2 separate regions of the Homo sapiens genome follow, and region 1 is linked to region 2. The links are contacts of gene promoters, found by promoter capture Hi-C in blood cells and fetal thymus (Javierre and others, 2016). All regions are on one chromosome and are shown on one strand. Each heading gives the region's core, a stretch centred on a gene start or on the middle of the fragment in contact. The rest is flanking DNA. Distances are from core to core; before and after follow the strand shown.

Evidence for each region. The method cuts DNA at HindIII sites, captures the fragments that hold promoters and counts their contacts. A CHiCAGO score of 5 or more calls a contact.
Region 1: a fragment that was not itself captured here is called in contact with the fragment with the promoter of SPIN3 in region 2 in 1 of 17 cell types (naive CD4 T cells); the score reaches 5.4 in naive CD4 T cells.

The regions. Positions count from the first base shown.
Region 1 is chrX:56,281,734-56,284,773 of GRCh38, reverse strand. It overlaps KLF8 (KLF transcription factor 8), which reads right to left. Exons shown (of 6, transcript NM_007250.5): 6 at 1-461. The coding sequence ends at 280. Among named protein-coding and RNA genes, the nearest start is that of KLF8, 51 kb to the right of the region's middle. The HindIII fragment of the contact is 7,753 bases long and covers 1-3,040 here.
Region 2 is chrX:56,993,860-56,996,840 of GRCh38, reverse strand. It overlaps SPIN3 (spindlin family member 3), which reads left to right and starts at 1,300. Exons shown (of 2, transcript NM_001010862.3): 1 at 1,300-1,625; 2 at 1,892-2,981. The coding sequence starts at 1,894. The coding sequence ends at 2,670. RefSeq lists an enhancer at 1,269-1,368. The HindIII fragment of the contact is 2,350 bases long and covers 677-2,981 here.

The DNA.
Region 1 (3,040 bases), core at 124-2,623, 710 kb after region 2:
CAGAGCAGGGGGGGATGGGAAGGCAGCCATGGGTGCCACACTGGAATTCAACCCATGTGGAGGTTGAAAAAAACGGGTCTGGACAGTGGAGAAGTGAAGGTAGAATATGAAGAGCCCCACGGGAGACCAGCTCTCTTTTCCTCCAGTCTCCTCAACTTGGCTCAGTGGGCTGCTTCAACCCCATATGCAAGCTGAAGTCAAAGAGGAAAAAATTGTCCCAACCTCAGCACACGACCAGGAAAGATACCAGCGCAGCTTCTCTAGTGTGACCTGTGCGGCTCACATGGTGTCATGGCGACGGCGATGCAGGGACAGGTGGTCAGAACGAGAAAAGCTGCGGTTGCAGTCTGTGCACCGAAAAGGCTTGATGCCTGTGTGCTTGCGGAAATGGCGAGTGAGCTCATCTGAGCGAGCAAATTTCCAGGAGCAGCCATCCCAGGTGCATTTATAAGGCTTCTCTCCTAAAAAGGGAATGTGACAAAAAAAAGAGAATCAGAGAGAGGATGATCGGATACTAGAAAGATAATAGAATACATAACTCGTATCAAGGCTTTAGTGAAAAGGCTAGGCAATAACCTTGAAGGCATATGCCTGTAAATCTTTTAAGTTAATTAATTGATTGAGAAGCACTGTATAAATGTACAACATGATGTTTTGAGATGTATATACATTGTGGAATGGCTAAGTCGAGTTAATTAACATACATATTACCTATATACTTATCTTTTTTTGTGGTAAGAACACTTGAAATCTACTCTCTCATTGATTTTCAATAATACAATACATTGTTACCTACAGGAGTTCTAAAGAAAGTCCAAGATGTTAGAGTGGGAAGCACATAGCCTCTTGTTCAAATAGGCCTTTGTGTGATCCGGCTCTACTACAAACTAGCTGTGTGATCTTATATAATCACTTCTCCCTGGCTTGGTCTCTGTTTTCTCATCTCTAAAGGATAAAAATATATCACAAAGTTGTTCAAAACATTTTATTTTTAAAAGATAGCTAGCAACCAATACAACTGGGATCTAAACTCAGGTCTTTGGCACTTTATAATATCCGTTCCTCTAATATCTCCTACCAAACAGTCTAAAATAGAGCCATATGGTCCGGTGCGGTGGCTCACGCCTGTAATCCCAGCACTTTGAGAGGCAGAGGCGGACGGATCATGAGATCAGTATATTGAGAACATCCTGGCTAACACGGTGAAACCCCGTCTCTACTAAAAATGAAAAAAATAAGCTGGGCGTCGTGGAGGGCGCCTGTAGTTCCAGCTACCCAGGAGGCTGAGGCAGGAGAATGGCGTGAACCCGGGAAGCGGAGCTTGCAGTGAGCCGAGATTGCGCCACTGCACTCCAGCCTAGGAGAGAGCGAGACCTGTCTCAAAAAAATAAATAAAATAAAATAAAATAGAGCCATATATACACAGGATGAATGTGTGATTCATTGGAAAGGGCCCTCAGCTAAGGCTACAGGTCTTTTGTGTAAGGTTAGAAACTCAAGGGCATGTAATGGCATGGGGGGCAGTGTCAGGTCAAACTTTTTGAAATAGCTCCATGCCCAGAATCTTTGGGTTGTATTTGAATTATATATAGGATATGTATGCTCAAGATAGAAAGCTAAATGGAAAAAAAGTAGTATAAAAAAATTAACGCAGTATGACCCCATTATGGTATATAGATCACACACCATACATTTGTATACTCATAATAAAGCCAATATCAATACACTTAAATGTACATTATGAGAGAAACTGTTAACAGTGAATGACTTTGTGGAAAGTGAGGACCAGGGATGGTGGGAAGAGAACTTTTCATTTTTACTTTATACCCTTTTGTACTGTTTTAAATGCTTTAAAATCATAATGTTGTATCATATAATAAAAATTTTGAAAAAGGAAATAAGCTATATGAGCAACAATAAATATTAACTGTGGATAAGTCTGGGTTGTAGGATTAGGGTAATGTTTGCTTTCTTCTTAATACATTTTTCTGTTTCCCATCTTCTACAATGAGCATGTATTATTTTACAATCAGAAACAAACAATAATGCAGACACAAAAATGCATTGGTATTCTAACAGTCTCTTTCTCTCGGTCTTTTCCCCTTTACTCCCTGTAAATTACCTAGGGCATTTAATTTTATGCTGTTCTAAATTCTGGTGGCAATCTGGCTTGCATAAACTGTTTTCCAACTTACTACACACCACCTACCAACCCTCCCAAGTGTTTGCTAATTAACTGTATAGTGTTCACATAATGAGCAACAGAATGAAATCCAGTCTGAATCACAGCTTTGGACTATATCAAGGCAAACATTTCAAAGATTAAAGACATCAATTACTGATCATTTCAATATTCAGAAATAGCTGCATTAGCTGCTAAGAAGAATGAGATAAAGCTGGATGTAATGAGACAAAAAAGATGGCAAATGAAATGTTATCAAATTAAAAAAGATACTGAACAACCACACACACACATGCTCACGGAGAGTAGGATCTCATTTATGTTTTCTAAATCTTGTGCCTGTCCTTCTCTGTCTCTCTCTCTCCAAGGAGGAAAGATCTGGAAGGCTATACAACAAATTGTTAACAGAGGGAAGAAGAATAGGATTTCAGGGGATGTTTAGAGTGTGTAAATTAAATTTTCACTTTTTGTTCTATGTGATTTTATAGCATCTCCACATCTCCCAATGGCTGCATTGCTATCTATACATTTTGTTGTGATCTCTCAAGAATGTCTTCTGAGAATTCCTATATACACCTCAACCAATTGAGGAAAATTTGACTTGTAAGGCAGTGACACCCTGTGGTGATCAGAGCTCATTTCTAGAACACACAAATTATTGTAAAGGAATTCAGCAGTGAGGCCCATTTTCCTATTTCAAAAGCATTTACCCTTGTATTATCATTGAACAAGCTCCTGTTTGTGCCAATGAACATCATACAACACAACTTGTAATCTCCATCAACTTATCATTTGAATTAAAGAACAAAGTATATATGCAGAGAAAGAATTCATAATATAAAGCACATATATTAACTA
Region 2 (2,981 bases), core at 51-2,550:
TATTTAGGTGTGACTCCAAACGCACAACCAAGTTTTAAGCTTTTGTGCATCAAAAATACTATCAAGAAAGTGAAGACACCCCACAAAACGGGATAAAATATTTTCATATCATATATCTGATAAGGTTCTCTCATCCAGAATTTAAAAAGAACAATTAACAGCCCTGCTACAAACAATTCATTTAAAAAATGAACAAAGCACTTGAAATAGACATTTCTCCAAAGATACACAAATGTCCAACAAGCACACAAAAAGATGCTCATCCTCATTAGTCATTAGAGAAATGCAAATTAAAACCACAATTAGGTACCACTTCATACCCACTAGGATGGCTGTAACGATAAAACTGATTGAATCACTTCTAAAATGTCTTTCTCCACAGATTTATGATCTCACAAATTCCTGTTTTAATTATAGCAATTGTTCTAAGTTTAGTGTCTAGGTTATTCTGTTCAAGTGAACAGAATAATTCATGCGCAAGCACAATTTATAGGTATTTAACAATTAAACGTCTGAAGATAGGAGGCAACGGCAAAATTATGAAAAATCCTAATGCTTAATTTTATGAAGCTACTACAAAACATGTTCTCAGAAAATATCTAAAAAATTGAGCAAATGTTTATTCTACATGGAAATGAGCAGGACATGAAAGTGCATATTCAAAATTATCCAAGCTTTGTAAGAGCTTAGAAAAAAGGAAAAGGAAATAGTGTTAATATTTCACTGTGAGCCCTGGAAAATGGGAGGCCGGCTTAGTTAATTATTTTCTCTTCATGTCAATTTTCTGAATTTTACAGTGTCAATATTGTGCATGCAATTCTTTTGCAATCAGGGGAAAAGAAAAGAAATCCTCAAGAAGTTAAGTCTGGGAATGACAAGTCAGTAAAAATTACGTAGATTGGGTCAAGATGGCAGCCTGAACACTGAGCAGTAGCGCATTTCTCTTGTCCTACCACAAATCCCCTTCAATGGAGGGTGGGGGGACGCGGGGAGGGAGGGGAAAGGAAAGGGCTAATTCCTGAAAGGTGGAAAGCAGAAGGGGCAGGGGCGCAGAGGGTTGAGGTTAGGTGAGGGGAGGGGCGCGTGCTAAACCAGAAGAGGTAAACCAATGCAGTGAGAGAGAGGTGGTTGTGGGCTCCACAGCTTCTGATTTGGAGGAAGCTGCGAGACCGAGAGCCTAGGAGCACCTTCCACGCCCAGGGCTGTGGTACAGGTTGGTGGGGGAGGGGCGCCACGCGGTGTTTGGCAGGAAGGGGAGGCCTCTCTACTGACCGGAAGCTGCGCTAGAAAAAGAAGGAGGAGACTGCGGCGCAGCAGCGACTAGTGGGAGTCCGATGTGGGAGAGGGGCTGCGGCCACCGCCACCGCCGCCGCCACCAGGAAGGCGGAGGACGCAGGAGCCAAGAGCAAGGGACGCCGCCACGGTCATCTTCGCCTGCCCCGCCGCCCTCTTAGAGACACTCATTGCCTATGGATCATCCTCTCCCAGCTTTTGCAAGCACCGGGCTGCTCGCCCGCTGATTTTCCTCCTCCATAGGCTCACTGCGGAGGCAACGGCGAGGTGTCCGATTTGTGCACTTGAGGCCCGCAATCCGGGACGGTGGGGAATCTGCGCCTCCTGGCCGGGTAGTGTTGGAAGCAGGGCGAGGGGAATGGGGAAACGCTTCGTATTTCACCGAACCGCAGATCTTAGCCAGACTGAGCTGGGGAGGAAGGTTACTGCAGGCACTCAGCCAGGGTGCCTTGATTTCCAGCTTTGCTATCTAGCTTTCGGGAAAAACAGGTGTGGGTTTACTGGGTGCGCTGATTAGGAGAAAAAGCTCTCCGTGTTATGCATTGATTTTGTTAATTTCCTTTCTCGGTCCACCTGGCAACTGTGCTCCTCTTCGCAGGCATGAAGACCCCGTTTGGAAAGGCAGCTGCAGGGCAGCGGTCCAGGACGGGCGCTGGCCACGGCAGTGTGTCTGTTACCATGATAAAGAGGAAGGCTGCACACAAGAAGCATAGGAGCCGACCCACCTCCCAGCCTCGGGGGAACATCGTGGGCTGCAGAATTCAGCACGGATGGAAAGATGGAGATGAACCTCTAACACAGTGGAAAGGAACCGTTCTGGATCAGGTACCTGTAAATCCCTCTCTGTATCTTATCAAATATGATGGATTTGACTGTGTTTATGGATTGGAACTTCACAGAGATGAAAGAGTGTCATCACTTGAAGTCCTTCCTAATAGAGTTGCATCATCTAGAATCAGTGATACACACTTGGCAGAAATAATGGTTGGCAAAGCAGTGGAACATATTTTTGAGACAGAGGAAGGTTCCAAAAATGAATGGAGGGGGATGGTCTTAGCTCAGGCACCTGTCATGAACACATGGTTTTACATTACCTATGAGAAAGATCCTGTATTATATATGTACCAGCTCTTAGATGATTATAAAGATGGTGACCTCCGCATCCTTCAAGATTCCAATGATTCTCCTCTGGCAGAGAGGGAGCCAGGAGAAGTCATAGACAGCCTGGTAGGCAAACAGGTGGAATACGCCAAAGACGATGGCTCCAAGAGAACTGGCATGGTCATTCATCAGGTAGAAGCAAAACCCTCTGTGTACTTCATCAAATTTGATGATGATTTCCATATCTATGTCTACGATTTGGTAAAAACATCTTAGAGGTCATCTTGAAATTTGCCAAATATATGAGACTCTAAATCTGTAGACACAGAAAGTCTTGATTGCTTTCCAGTTTGTAAGAACCATCTTCTCCCTTTTTGCACGTTTTGCTTGGCAAAAAAATTGGAACTTCTGCCCTCTCATACGTTTTTGGAAGAAACCTTTTGCCCATCTGTCCAACCTTTTCACTGGTTCCTCTCCGCAATTTAACTGATTAGTGAGAAGGGTAAAGTCTGACATCCATTGGCTCATACTTTTTTTTATCTTGGGTGGTGTTAATAGATTAAAGGTAGCTGAACACCTCTCACCTC